Regions from separate parts of the Homo sapiens genome. Here region 1 is linked to region 2. Evidence: promoter capture Hi-C in human tissues and cell types (Jung and others, 2019). All regions are on one chromosome and are shown on one strand. The core of a region is centred on a gene start or on the middle of the fragment in contact, and the rest is flanking DNA. Distances in the headings are between cores, read along the strand shown.

The links. The method cuts DNA at HindIII sites, captures the fragments that hold promoters and counts their contacts. A contact is called where the count stands out against the background at its distance.
Region 1: a fragment that was not itself captured here is called in contact with the fragment with the promoter of CA11 in region 2 in 1 of the 25 tissues and cell types used here (adrenal gland).

The regions. Positions count from the first base shown.
Region 1 is chr19:48,792,631-48,798,979 of GRCh38, forward strand. It overlaps BCAT2 (branched chain amino acid transaminase 2), which reads right to left. Exons shown (of 11, transcript NM_001190.4): 7 at 4,561-4,703; 8 at 4,307-4,392; 9 at 3,948-4,088; 10 at 3,798-3,872; 11 at 2,434-2,834. The coding sequence ends at 2,796. It also overlaps the pseudogene RNU6-317P. Among named protein-coding and RNA genes, the nearest start is that of BCAT2, 15 kb to the right of the region's middle. RefSeq lists enhancers at 870-1,370, 2,603-2,672, 2,713-2,892, 3,490-4,125, 5,938-6,349. The HindIII fragment of the contact is 3,051 bases long and covers 1,979-5,029 here.
Region 2 is chr19:48,643,375-48,650,578 of GRCh38, forward strand. CA11 (carbonic anhydrase 11) reads right to left here and starts at 2,813. Exons shown (of 9, transcript NM_001217.5): 1 at 2,192-2,813; 2 at 2,029-2,103; 3 at 1,053-1,195. The coding sequence starts at 2,258. It also overlaps the pseudogene SEC1P. RefSeq lists enhancers at 741-1,442, 1,443-2,143, 2,144-2,844 and silencers at 2,802-2,991, 3,022-3,431. The HindIII fragment of the contact is 19,792 bases long and covers 1-7,204 here.

The DNA of each region.
Region 1 (6,349 bases), core at 2,254-4,753, 150 kb after region 2:
TCCCGAGTAGCTGGGACTACAGGCGCCCACCACCATGCCCGGTTAATTTTTTTTTTTGTATTTTTAGTAGAGACAGGGTTTCACCATGGTAGCCAGGATGGTCTTGATCTCCTGACCTCGTGATCCACCTGCCTCAGCCTCCCAAAGTGCTGGGAGTACAGGTGTGAGCCACCGCGCCCGGCTTCTTTATTTTTTTGAGAGAGGGTCTCACTCTGTCACCCAGGCTGGAGTGTAGTGGTGTGATCTTGGCTCACTGCAACCTCCATTTCCCAGATTCAAGCAATTCTTGTGCCTCAGCCTCCCGAGTAACTGAGAGTACAGGTGTGTGCCACCATGCCTGGCTCATTTTCATATTTTTAGTAGAAATGGGGTTTCACCATGTTGGCCAGGCTGGTCTCGAACTCCAGACCTCAAGTGATCTGCCCACCTCGGCCTCCGAAAGTGCTGGGATTATAGGCGTGAGCCACTGTGCTCAGACCGGTGTTTGGTTTTCTGTTCCTGTGTTAGTTTGCTGAGGACAAAAAAATATGGAATGCTTTGCGAATTTGTGTGTCATCCTCGCACAGGGGCCATCCTAGTCTTCTCTGTATCATTCCAATTTTAGTATATGTGCTGCCGAAGTGAGCACATGGATTGTTTTATCAAGGGAAGAAAGCTTCCCAGAGGCCTCCAGGCAAGTTTCCCTTAGGATCCCCTTGGCCTCTAACCTTTCCTTGAGGGATCATTGACAATGGGAAATGAGAGGATGTGGTAATGGGTCTGCTGACGCCGTAAAAAACTGGACTTTCAGTGTCAACGCCGATGGCTGCTGGATAGGCCACAGATCATGTTTGCCAGAATAGTCCCACAGGGTGTCCCTCCAGCAAATTGGATCAAGGAGATTAAGCACCACACCTGAGGTCACACAGCCAGCCGATAACCAAGGCAGTCTGTGAATTCGAATCTGCAAGAGGATGTGCCTCGTCCATCCGAATGCCTGGCTTTCTCTACACCTCCACATAACAATTATAATATGAAAAGGTATATGTGGGCCAGGTTGGGTAGCTCATGCCTATCATCCCAGCATGTTGAGAGGCCGAGGCAGGTGGATCACCTGAGGTCAGCAGTTTGAGACCAGCCTGGCCAACATGGCAAAACTCCCATCTTTACTAAAAATACAAAAATTAGCTGGGCATGGTAGTGCACGCCTGTAGTCCCAGCTACTGGGGAGGCTGAGGCAGGACAATCGCTTGAACCCAGGAGGCAGAGGTTGCAGTGAGTCGAGATCATGCCACTGCACTCCAGCCTGAGCGACAGAGCGAGACTCTGTCTCAAGAAAAAAATAAAATAAAGTGTGTGTGTGTGTCTGTGTGTGTGTGTGTGTGTGTGTGTGTGTGTTGGAGTGCAGTGGCATGATCTCTGCTCACTGCAACCTCTGCCTCCTAGGTTCAAGCGATTCTCCTGCCTCAGCCTCTCAAGTAGATGGGATTACAGGCACCCTCCACCACGTCCAGCTGGTTTTTTTGTATTTTTAGTAGAGATGGGGTTTCACCATGTTGGCCAGGCTGCTCTTGAACTCCTGACTTCAGGTGATCCGCCCACCTTGGCCTCCCAAAGTGCTGGGATTACGGGCATGAGCCACAGTGCCTGGCCTTTTTTTCAAGACAGTCTTGCTCTGTCACCCAGGCTGGAGTGTAGTGGCACAATCACAGCTCACTGCAGCCTCAACCTCCCGGGCTCAGGCAATCCTCCCACCTCAGCCTCTGGAGTAGCTGGGACTATACTCACATGCCACCTCACCTGGTTAATTTTCTGTATTTTCTGTACAGATGGGATCTCACTGTGTTGCCCAGCCTGGTCTCAAGCAATCCTCCCGCCTCAGCCTCCCACAGTGCTGGAATTGCAGGTGGGAGTCACCATACCCAGTCTAAACTCTTCCACGTTTAATCCCTCCAGCAGGTGAGAGTATCGTGCCTCACTCCACACCCACTAGGGTCCCGTGACTACAGTCCTGGCTGAGGGCACTGGGCCACGTCTGGGTGTAGAAAAGACCCTTTGGGCCAGGTAGCAGACTGCAGGCTGGAACAAGGGTGCCAGTAGAAGACAGCAGCTGAGCTGAGGCCAGGGCCTAGGGGACAAAGAGGCGGGGGAACGGACAGCAGAGTCGGGGGCAGGAGGAACAGGGATCGGGGCCTCGTGGGCTTTGAGAGAAAAGGATGCAGCACCTAGGGGTCCGGCCTAGAGACTGGGAGACGGGAAAGTAGGGGAGGAGCTGGTTGGTGGGGGGCAGATAGTAAGTTCAGTGCCGGAGACATGAAATGCTCCCCCAGGTTGGAGAAACCATCAGAACACTGGGGGCTCGGATGACTGAGTCCTTCAGAATAAAATGGGCTGAGGAAGCAGGATTCCTGGGTTAAAGCCCCAGAGTCACGTCACTGAAGAAGCCCGACAATGTGTGTTCTTTGGCATTTTATTTCAAAATTGCAGCAAAGACAGAGAAAAAAAAATCAACGGCAGCACCAGGGGTCTGGCCTGAGAACGGAGAGATCCGGAATCGGGGCCAAGGTGTATCCTTGACCGCACGACAAGGAGTAATGGGCGGACCTGAACCCGCGACGAGGGGCTGGGGGCCAAGATGCCTGGGTCGGCCCTTACGGCTTTGGGAGTGTCGCAACCACATGGGGGCGCCAGAGACCCAGACGCCGCCCGCTGGCCTTTTATTTCGTATTGCACTTCAGGTGAGTCATTGGTAGGGAGGCGAGTGCTGGCGTGACGAGATGCTACGGGTCGGTGGATCTGGAGCACAGCCTGCAGCTTCACACCGGGAACATCCACTCGTGGGCTCTGATTCCGTACTGCGGAACAACGGAGGCAGTGCGTGAGGTGGAAGCTGCACTACAACTCCCAGTAGGCCCTGGGGTGTTCCAGGCCGAGTGCCTACGGAGCTGTGCCCCAGCGGCTCACGGGAAATGTAGTCCACTTCCCAGAGGGCCCCAACAATGATGGGAACGGGGAATCAAGGCTAAGGCGGCGCAGAGGCTTCCGGGAGATGTAGTTCTGAAGACAGGAATTATGGCCAGGCCTCTAAGGCTCTTGGAAAAAGTCACTTTCAGCTCAGAAAGCCCAGATAGTCAGAGGATGTGTAGTTCTAGGTCCTGATGCACAAAAGTTTACAGAAATGTAGCTCTAGGTCTGGGAAAGGAGCCCAGAGATTCTTGGGAAAGAGATCTTGGCCCAGAAGATGGGAATACCCCCAGAGATTTATGGGATTAAACAGTCTGGTGCCAGAGAGGGGCCAAGGTCCAGAGGCTCATGGGAGGAAGCTTTCTCCGGCCAAAGGGATAGCCCAGGGCTCCAGGGAATCTTGGGAGGCCAACCTCTGAGATGGCCAGAGGGCTGGCTAAGGTCTCAGTGATTCATGGAAAGGGCCTTTCTCCCACCAGGGCACCCGGGGCAGCAGAGGATCACAGGGAGGGAGTTTCTCCCACCAGGGCACCCAGGGGCCTCAGAGGCCCACGGAGAGGGGGTTTCTCCTACCAGGGCACCCAGGAGCCGCAGAGGATCACAGGAAGGGGTTTCCAAAGCTGAAGACATATCCAGGGCTCCGGGAGCTCCCAGGAAAGGGTGATTTAGCCCCAAGGGGTTTTCCAGGCCACAGAGCAGCACAGAAAGCCCACTCTCCAGGGCCTCAATAAGAAAGGCCATTATCTGTTCCTGGTACTACTGAAGGAGGCTGGCTGTTAGTCCAGGGGCTCATGGGACACCAACTTCTCCAGGGAACAAGCTCCCAGCCCATTCCCCAGCTCCCTGCAGCTCACCTGGATCTCCTTCAGCTCCTTCTGGAAGCGGAGGATCAGCTCAGGCCCATTTTCCATGGTGGGAATGTGGAGGTTCTGGGACAGAAGGTGCGGTGAGGACCAAGCCCCTCCCCTCCTTCCCTCCCACCCACAATGGCAGCCCCGCCTCACCCTGTCTTTGTACAGGATTCGGTGCACTGGGCAGACCTGGCAAGCGGTGCCCGAGCCAAAGACTTCCCGCACGCGGCCCTCCTCCAGGGCCCGCAGCAACTGCTTCATGGTGATCGTGCGCTCCACCACCCGGAACTCACCCTGCAGGGCAGTTGGCAGAGACACGTGTCCCCAGAGGGTTGCCCTGCTGCAGACCTCCACCTCTCCCTCCCTGAGGATAGTGAGAAAGACAGAGGCCCAACGGGAGAGACAGACCCAGGAGAAGGGGCAGAGACATGCCAGTGTGCCCCAGTCCCAGCCCTCTGATGCCCTGGCCCCTGGCACATGGCGCCCATCACCAGAAGATGCCATGTCCTCACCCAGGTCTGAGCCATGTCCAGTAGACTCTGTCTGACCACTCCAGGCAGGATAACACCATTCAGCGGGGGCGTCACCAGCTCCAGCACTAGGGCAGGTGTAAGGGGTGGAAGATGTTACCTCTCACCCCCTAGCACCGCCGTCTTAAGAGCCACCCCCTTCCCCCATCCCAGAATCCCTGGGGCCTGTAACCTGCCAGGAATGATGGTGCCACCCACTTCCACCAGGGTTCGGGCTGGGTCATGGGTGGGCTTACCCCCATCTTCGTGGGTCCAGTAGACAAAGATGTTCATGGTTCCCACCTCGGTGAGCTGGTGGTCGGGCCCATACAGCCAGAGGACCTGTTCACAGCCCCGCTTGAGTGCCTCCTGTTGCACTAACACGGTGGGCCCATAATTCCTGGTGGAGGGCAGTCTGGTTGGGTGGGGCAAGGGAGCCCCATCCTTCCCCAGCCCAGCCCCAGAGGAGGCTCATCCTACTCTCTCCCGTCTCCCTGCTCACAGCTCTCACAGGGCTCCCCAGTTCCCCTGAGATGGAATCCTTGACTTTTCATTTGGCATCAGGACCCTAAATGGTTATGTCCCCTCTCTCCTGTCTCTTCCCACTTTTCTTTCTTTTCTTTTCTTTTTTTTTTAAGACGGAGTCTCGCTCTGTCACCCAGGCTGGAGTGCAGTGGTGCGATCTTGGCTCACTGCAACCTCCGCCTCCCAGGTTCAAGAGATTCTCCTGCCTCAGCCTCTCTTGACCTGGTGATCTGCCCGCCTCAGCCTCCCAAAGTGCTGGGATTACAGGCGTGAGCCACCGCGCCCAGCCCTCACCCATTTCATACTGACCAAATCCTCAGCTGTCATTCAAAACCATTTCTTTTTTTCTTTTTTTCTTTTTTTTTTTTTTGAGACAGAGTCTTGCTCTGTCGCCCAGGCTGAGGCTAGAGTGCAGTGGTGCGATCTCAGCTCACTGCAACCTCCGCCTCTCGGGTCCAAGCGATTCTCGTGCCTCAGCCTCCTGAGTAACTGGAGTAACTGGGGCATGCAGCACCATGTCCGGCTAATTTATATTCACATTTATATTTATATGCCCGCCTCAGCCCCCCAAAGTGCTGGGATTACAAGAGTGAGCCACAGCGCCCGGCCTTACTTTTTATATTTTTAGTAGAGACGGGGTTTCACCATGTTGGCCAGGCTGGTCTCAAACTCCTGACCTCAAGTGATCCGCCTACCTCGGCCTCCCAAAGTGCTGGGATTACAAGCGTGAGCTACCGCGCCTGGCTCCAAAACCGTTTCTGTTGTCACCTCCTCGAGAGGTGTTTCCAGACCTCCAGGCTGGGTGCTGGACCTTCCCTGGACTCCCCCAGTGAACTGGGCTACCTGGATGACTTTCTGAGTCTCTCTCCCAGAGATAGCCTCTCCCCTCAGCTGCTAACAAGCCTCCCATGGCTCCCCAGTGCCCCAGGACAAGACCCTAGCCTCCTTCCGGCATTCCAGGCCTGCCTGGGTCTAATGAATACTTGCTAAGCATTTTTCAAAACCCAAACTTATTTTTGTAACCTGAACATCTTCTGTGATCCTATTCCTTCTGTCCCTGTACACATGGTTCCCAGGACTGGAAACAGTTTGCTGACTTTTGTACCCAGGAAACCCCCTCCTCCCTCCTCGTCAGACCTAGTTGAAGGGTCGCCTCCTCTGCGAAACCTTTCTTTTTTTTTTTTGAGATGGAGTTTCGCTCTGTCGCCCAGGCTGGAGTGCAGTGGCGCGATCTCGGCTCACTGCAAGCTCTGTCTCCTGGGTTCTCGCCATTGTCCTGCCTCAGCCTCCTGAGTAGCTGCGACTACAGGCGCCCGCCACCAAGCCCGGCTAATTTTTTTTTTTTTTTTTTGTATTTTTAGTAGAGATGGGGTTTCACTGTGTTAATCAGGATGGTCTCGATCTCCTGACCTCGTGATCTGCCCGCCTCAGCCTCCCAAAGTGCTGGGATTACAGGCGTGAGCCACCGCCTCTGGCCTCTGTGAAGGCTTTCACAATGCCCTGGGTCACCTCACCAGAGAA
Region 2 (7,204 bases), core at 1,563-4,062:
AATTTTTGTATTTTTAGTAGAGATGGGGTTTCACCATGTTGGCCAGGCTGATCTCGAACTCCTAACCTCGTGATCCACCCACCTCGGCCTCCCGAAGTGCTGGGGTTACAGGCATGAACCACCACACCCAGGCATGTCCTAGCTATTTTTGAGGCTGAGGTAGGAAGATCACTTGGGCCCAGGAATTTGAGGTTACAGTGAGCTATGACTGGGCCACTGCACTCCAGCCTGGGTCACAGAGTGAGATCCCAATTCCAAAAAAAAAAAAAAAAAGTATGGTTCCCAGCATGGTACTATAAAGCAGGTCCCAGCATTCATGCTACGCTGCTTGGTTTGAATGCCAGTGCTGGCTCTCTGTGTGATCCTAGGCAAGTAACTTAACCTCTGTGTGTCAGTTTCTGCATGTATATAATAAGGTTAATAATTGTACCCATTTTGGCTGGACGCAGTGGCTCATGCCTGTAATCCTAGCACTTTGGGAGGCCGAGGCAGGTGGATCACCTGAGGTCAGGAGTTCAAGACCAGCCTGACCAAAATGGAGAAAACCCATCTCTGCTAAAAATACAAAAAATTAGCTGGGCGTGATGGTGCGCATGCCTGTAATCCCAACTACTCGGGAGGCTGGGGCAGGAGAATCGCTTGAACCTGGGAGGTGGAGGTTGCAGTGAGCTGAGATCACATCATTGCACTCCAGCCTGGGCAACAAGAGCAAAACTCCATCTCAAAATAATAATAATAATAATAACAATAATAATAATTGTACCCATTTTGTGGGGTGGTTATGAGATGAGAGGCTTATCAAGGTTTTAAATCTGCCTGGCACAGGAAATGTTCTGCTTTTCATTGCTTCTGCAGAGATGGGGAGACTAGGGGACCATGCTTGGGATGGGAAGAATGGGTGATCCATTTTACAGTGTAAGCAGCCTCCTCTCCACCCACTGGGTGTCCCCTCCTCCCCCAAGGCTGCTCTCCTACCTCAGCACCCCATTCCCCAGCCTCTATTCATGCCCATCCCCAGTGGGTTCAATAGCTCCTCCCTCCAAGCCCCTTACCTTCTCTCCTCCAGTGCTGAGCCTTAATGGGGGCAGAAAGGGGTCATAAAGAACCCTCTTCAGCTCCACATCCACGGGGCTCTGCCGCTTCCCCACAGCACACAGACTCCACGCTGCATTCACCAGGCCCCAGAAAGGAGGCCCTGGGGGTGGGGTCGGAGTAGGAGGACAAGGAGTCAGAAATAGAGACTGGATCCCAGGGCTGGTATCTGCTGAGTGGGCTGTGGTCTGGACTCCCAGATCCCAGGGGAGGAGGGGCTAGGGACCTAGACTCCTGGGTCTGAGGGAGGACTGGGCTCAGATCCAGAATTCTGGGTCCTAGAAGAATCTTGGAATAGTTTCCAAGTTTAGCAGAGACGGGTTTCACCAAGTTGGCCAGGCTGGTCTTGAACTCCTGACCACAGGTAATCCACCCACCTCGGCCTCCTAAAGTGCTGGGATTTCAAGCGTGAGCCACCGCGCCCAGCCGATCAAACCCATCTTAAGCCACTGTAGATGGAACTACAACTCCCAGCAGGCCCCAGTGCTACCAGCCTACCCCTCTGCTGCCTACCTGCCCCAGAGCCCCGTGGGAGTTGTAGTTCTTTTTTTTAATCGCTCTTATCCCACAGCTGGATTATTATTAATGTGTTGGGGAGAGGAGCTGCAAGAGAAGGCTGGACAAGGTGGGGGACGGGGCCACCCAGCCTCTGGTTCCTAGCAGGAGCCAGGACCTTCCTCTCCCGGCAAACACACACATAATCTCCACCCCCACACTTTCCTTCCACTCACTCCCACTCACTACTTGAAATGCGCATGTATAATGTCCCATGGTGAGCCCCTGGGGTTCAGAAGCTGGCCCGACTCCTGAGGGACAGAGGAGGGGGCTGGGACTCCTGGTCCTGGGGGGGAGGAGGGAGCTGGGAACCCAGGTTCCTGAGTCTGAAGAAGGAGGCGCCGGGAGGGCCGGACTCCTGGGTCCCCGCCTTGGCGGCACCTGGCACGAAGTTTCCCTGGAGATTATCCTTGTAGCTCCACCAGTCCTCGGGGTCAGGTGCTGGTCCGATGTGAGCTGGGAAGAGAGCAGCCTGAATCCCTCTCCTTGGCATCCCCACCTCCACCCTCCCTCGGGGGCTCCTCCCGGGAACCCCAGGTCTTACCTGCTGCCCCCAGTGCAGCCCAGAGTACCAGCGCTCGAGGGGCGCTCAGACGAGCTGCAGCCCCCATCCCCAGGAGGCCTCCGAGGGACCCCTGCCCAACGCCCTGCCCCCCTCTCTCAGCTCCTCTGTCCCCTCCTTCTGGGACCCTGTCCCTCCAGGACTTCCAGCTTTCCTCTCCTCCCCACAGGGAGTCCCAGTTCCCCAAATGCCAAAGCAGCCAGGGACTGAGATCCGCCCTTCAAACCCACTCTTCTTCTCTCTCCCGTCTCTCTGTGTCTTTCCTCTTTCCTCTGCTCTTTTCCCGGAACCCTCCAGTCTCCCTCTAGCTCCTGATCTTCCTACTCCTCTCAGCCTTCTGCTGCCCCCAGGGCTACCTCTTGGTTCCTAACCCACACCTCCTCTCCGTTCTCTTTTCATTAAGCTCTCCCAAGCCACCTAACTCCAGGTCTCCATCCCGCATCTCCTCCTCCTCCTCCCTCTCTCCTTTCCAGCTCCTGCCTCTTCTCCCCTCTCTCCTTCTTCACCTCCTCCCGCCCTCCCTCAGTGTCGGCCTCCAGCTTCGTGCTCTCCCCACCTCCTCCTCTCCTGCCTCTTCTCCCTGTTTCAGTCTCTCTTCTCTCTTGTCCCTTCCTCCCTCCTCCCCCTCCCTCTCTCCTCTCCCGTGGTGTTATTTAATTTTGTTGTTGGGCTGGGGGAGCAGGTGATCTCATAGCGGCAAACACTCCTCGGGTTGGCTTGGGGTGGGATGTGCGAAAGGGCAGGATTCGGAAGGAGGTAGGGGGCTGGTCCTCGGCTCCCAGCCGCGCTGGGGCCACGCGGGCGGGGGTGGCCGGGACACCTGGGGCCGGGAGCAGGCTGTTTCCATCCTCCGCAGCAAGGGGAAGGGGGGGCGCTTAAGGTGGAGCTGGGAGTGGCTTCGGAAGTCTCCATGCTGGGGGCCGCCGGCCTTGGCGGATGCAGGGTCCCCCTGCTCGCTGGGACCCAGGTTGGAGCCGCCCCAGCGCCCGCAGCCCCCCTTCCCCGCCCCAGGGCTCCACTGGGTCTCTGCCTGGGGCTGCCTTAACGGGGCCGGGGGATCCCCTAGGAGCCTGAAGTGCAGTGAGGGCTGCTCGCCTGGAGGGGGAGGCAGAGACCTGGCGAGGGAGAGAGGGGCGGGGAGGAGGAGCCGGGAGGGCAGAGGCGGAGAGCGGGAGGTGAGGACCCACATCTGCGTAGGCTGGGGAGGGGAAGGGAGCCTGAGATGGATACGGAGAGGAAGGGCGGAGGGACAGAAGGTTAGAGAGGCAAGAACAAACCGCCAGGCAGGAGTGAGGAGGAGGGGGAGGAGGTGAAGGAGGAGGGGGAGGAGGGAGAGGAGGGGGAGGGAGAGGAGGGGGAGGAGGGAGAGGAGGAGGGGGAGGGAGAGAGGAAGGAATGAATGAGAGAGATACAGATAGAGGCAGAAAAGGAGATACAGAGACGCAGCGAGACAGACATGGAGACATAGAGACACACACTTAGAGATAGACAGAAACTCAGAGACCAAGCAGCAGATGGGGTGGGGAGAGACAAAAAGAGAGAAAGAGCGATCCAAAGACAGAGAGAGACACCACATTTTTGTATTTGGGGAGAAGAGATGGGGTCATGCTATGTTGCTCAGGCTAGTCTCAAACTCCTGTCCTCAAGGGATCCTCCCACCTTGGCCTCCCAAAGCATTGAGATTACAGGCATGAACAACCATACCCAGCCTCAGAGAGACCACATATTACTGTTGTTGTTGTTATTTATTATTTTTCACCCCGTCTAATGGTAGTGAAACTGCTCATTGTCTTCTTTTATTTTCTTTTTTGAGACAAGCCTTGCAATGTCACCCAGGCTGGAGAGCAGTGGTGCGATCATGGCTTGATCCAGCCTCGACCTCCTGGGCTTAAACACTCCTTCCACCTCAGCCTCCCAAATAGTTGGGACTACAGGCACATGCCACCATGCCAGGCTAATTTTTAAAAATTATTTTTTGTAGAGATGTAGTCTTGCTATGATGCCCAGGCTGGTCCGGAACCCCTGGGCTCAAGGGATCCTCCTGCCTTGGCCTCCCAAAGTGCTGGGATTACAGGTGTGAGCCACCTTGTCCAGCCTGACACCAAACATTAACGAGACAGAGAGACATAGAAAGAGACACACATACATCAGTACAGGTGGAGAGAGACACAGAGAGGGAGAGACATAGAAACACACACACAGACTGAGCATGGTGGCTCACACCTGTAATCCCAGAACTCTGGGAGGTCAAGGTGGATGGATCACTTGAGGCCAGGAGACTGAGACCAGCCCGGCCAACATGGCCAAATGCCATCTCTACTAAATACATAAAAACTTAGCCAGGCATGGTGGCTCACGCCTGTAATCCCAGCACTTAGGGTGGTCGAGGTGGGTGGATCACCTGAGGTCAGGAGTTCAAGACCAGCCTGACCAAAATGGTGCAACCCCGTTTCTACTAAAAAATACAAAAACTAGCTGAGCGTGGTGGCACACACCTATAATCCCGGCTACTCAGGAGGCTGAGACAGGAGAATCGCTTGAACCGGGTAGGTGGAGGCTACAGTGAGCCGAGATCCCAACAGTGCACTCCAGCCTGGGCAACAGAGTGAGACTCCATCTCAAAAAAAAAAAAAAAAAGAAAGAAAGAAAGAAACACACACACAGAGCTAGAGACAGAGACCTGGGAACAGGCACACACACATCTATAAATAGAGACACTCGTGCAGAGAAAGAGACATCAACAGAGAGGAACAGATGGACAGAGATAGAGAGACCCAGATAGAGGGAGAGAGGACCAGAAGCAGACCAACTGACATGATGGGAGAGACTACAAAGGAATCAGAAAGACAGAGGTATTCAGAGATAGCAAATTGGGATGGACATTCAAAGACCTAGAGATGGAGAGAGACACCCAGAAAGAAACCCAGAGAGTCAGGGGTGGAGAGAGACACGAAGAAAAAACACAAGAAGGAAAGGTACATACTAATAATTTATTGCTGGCGGGGCTTGGTGGTTCATGCCTGTAATCCCAGCACTTTGGGAGGCTGAGGAGGGAGGATCACTTGAGATCAAGAGTTTGAGACCAGCCTGGGCAACATAGTAAGACCTCGTCTCTATTTTTTATGAAAAAGAAAAAAACAGGCCGGGCACAGTGGCTCACACCTGTAATCCTAGCACTTTGGGAAGCTGAAGCGGGCGGATCACGAGGTCAGGAGATTGAGACCACGGTGAAACCCCATCTCTACTAAAAATACAAAAAATTAGCCGGGCGCGGTGGCGGGCGCCTGTAGTCCCAGCTCCTCGGGAGGCTGAGGCAGGAGAATGGCGTGAACCCGGGAGGTGGAGCTTGCAGTGAGCTGAGATCACGCCACTGCACTCCAGCCTGGGCGACAGAGCGAGACTCCGTCTCAAAAAAAAAAAAAAAAAAGAAAAAAGAAAAAGAAAAAAATAGTTGGGGAACGGCAGCTCACGCCTGTAATTCCAGCACTTTGGGAGGCCGAGGAAGGCAGATCACTTGAGGTCAGGAGTTTGAGACCAGCCTGACCAACGTGGTGAAACCCCGTCTTTACCAAAAATACAAAAATTAGGCTGGGCGCAGTGGCTCACGCCTGTAATCCCAGCACTTTGGGAGGCCAAGGCGGGCGGATCACAAGGTCAGGATTTCGAGACTGGCCTCACCAGCATGGTGAAACCGTGTCTCTGCTAAAAATACAAAAATTAGCTGGGCATGGTGGCACACGCCGAGATTGCGCCACTGCACTCCAGCCTGGGCGACAGAGTGAGACTCTGTCTCAAAAAAAAAAAAAAAACAAAAACAAAAATTAGCCGGGTGTGGTGACGCATGCCTCTAGTCCCAGCTGCTCGGGAGGATGAGGCATGAGAATCACTTGAACTCAGGAAGTGGAGGTTGCAGTGAGCCGAGATCACACCAGTGCCCTCCAGCCTGGGCAAAGAGTGAGACTGTCTCAAAAACAACGACAAAACAAAACAAAACAACGACAAAAAAATCTGTTGTTGTGTGACAAATTACCCTAAAACTCAGTGGCTTAAAACAACAAACATTTATTGTGTTCACAGTTCCTGAGGGCCAGGAATGTGGGAATGGCTTCATTGGGTGGTTCTGGATCCTTCTTGAGGGTGCAGTGAAACTGTTGGACAGGGCTGCAGTCATCTCAAGTCTTTTATGACCTAGTCTCCCAAAGTCACACACCTTTTATTCCACGCATCAGAAATGAGTCACTAGATCTAGCCTACACTCAAAAGGAAAGACGTTAGGATCCTCTGCTCTTGGGCCGGGAGCGGTGGCTCACGCCTGTAATCCCAGCACTTTGGGAGGCCGAGGAAGGCAGATCACTTGAGATCAGGAGTTCAAGAGCAGCCTGGCCAACATGGTGAAACCTCGTCTCTATTAAAAATACAAAAATTGGCCGGGCGTGTTGGCTCACGCTTGTAATCCCAGCACTTTGGGAGGCTGAGGCGGGCGGATCATGAGGTCAGCAGATCGAGACCACGGTGAAACCCCGTCTCTACTAAAAATACAAAAAATTAGCCGGGCGTGGTGGTGGGCGCCTGTAGTCCTAGCTACTCTGGAGGCTGAGGCAAGAGAATGGCGTGAACCCAGGAGGCGGAGCTTGCAGTGAGCTGAGATCGCGCCACTGCACTCCAGCCTGGGTGACAGAGCAAGACTGTCTCAAAAAAAAAAAAAATACAAAAATTAGCCGAGCATGGTGGCGTGTGCCTGTAATCCCAGCTACTCAGGAGGTTGAGGCAGGAGAATCGCTTGAAGCTGGGAGGCAGAGGTTGCAGTGAGCCAATATCGAGCCATTGCATTCCAGCCTGGGCGACAGAATGAGACCCTGTCTAAAAAAAAAAAAAAAAATCCTTTGCTCTTGAAAGGAAACGTATCACAGAATTTGGGGATTAATTTTCAAACCACCACAGGTGGGGAGAGGAAGAGAGACACAGAGTTGTGGAGAGATGGACCCTTAAAGACTT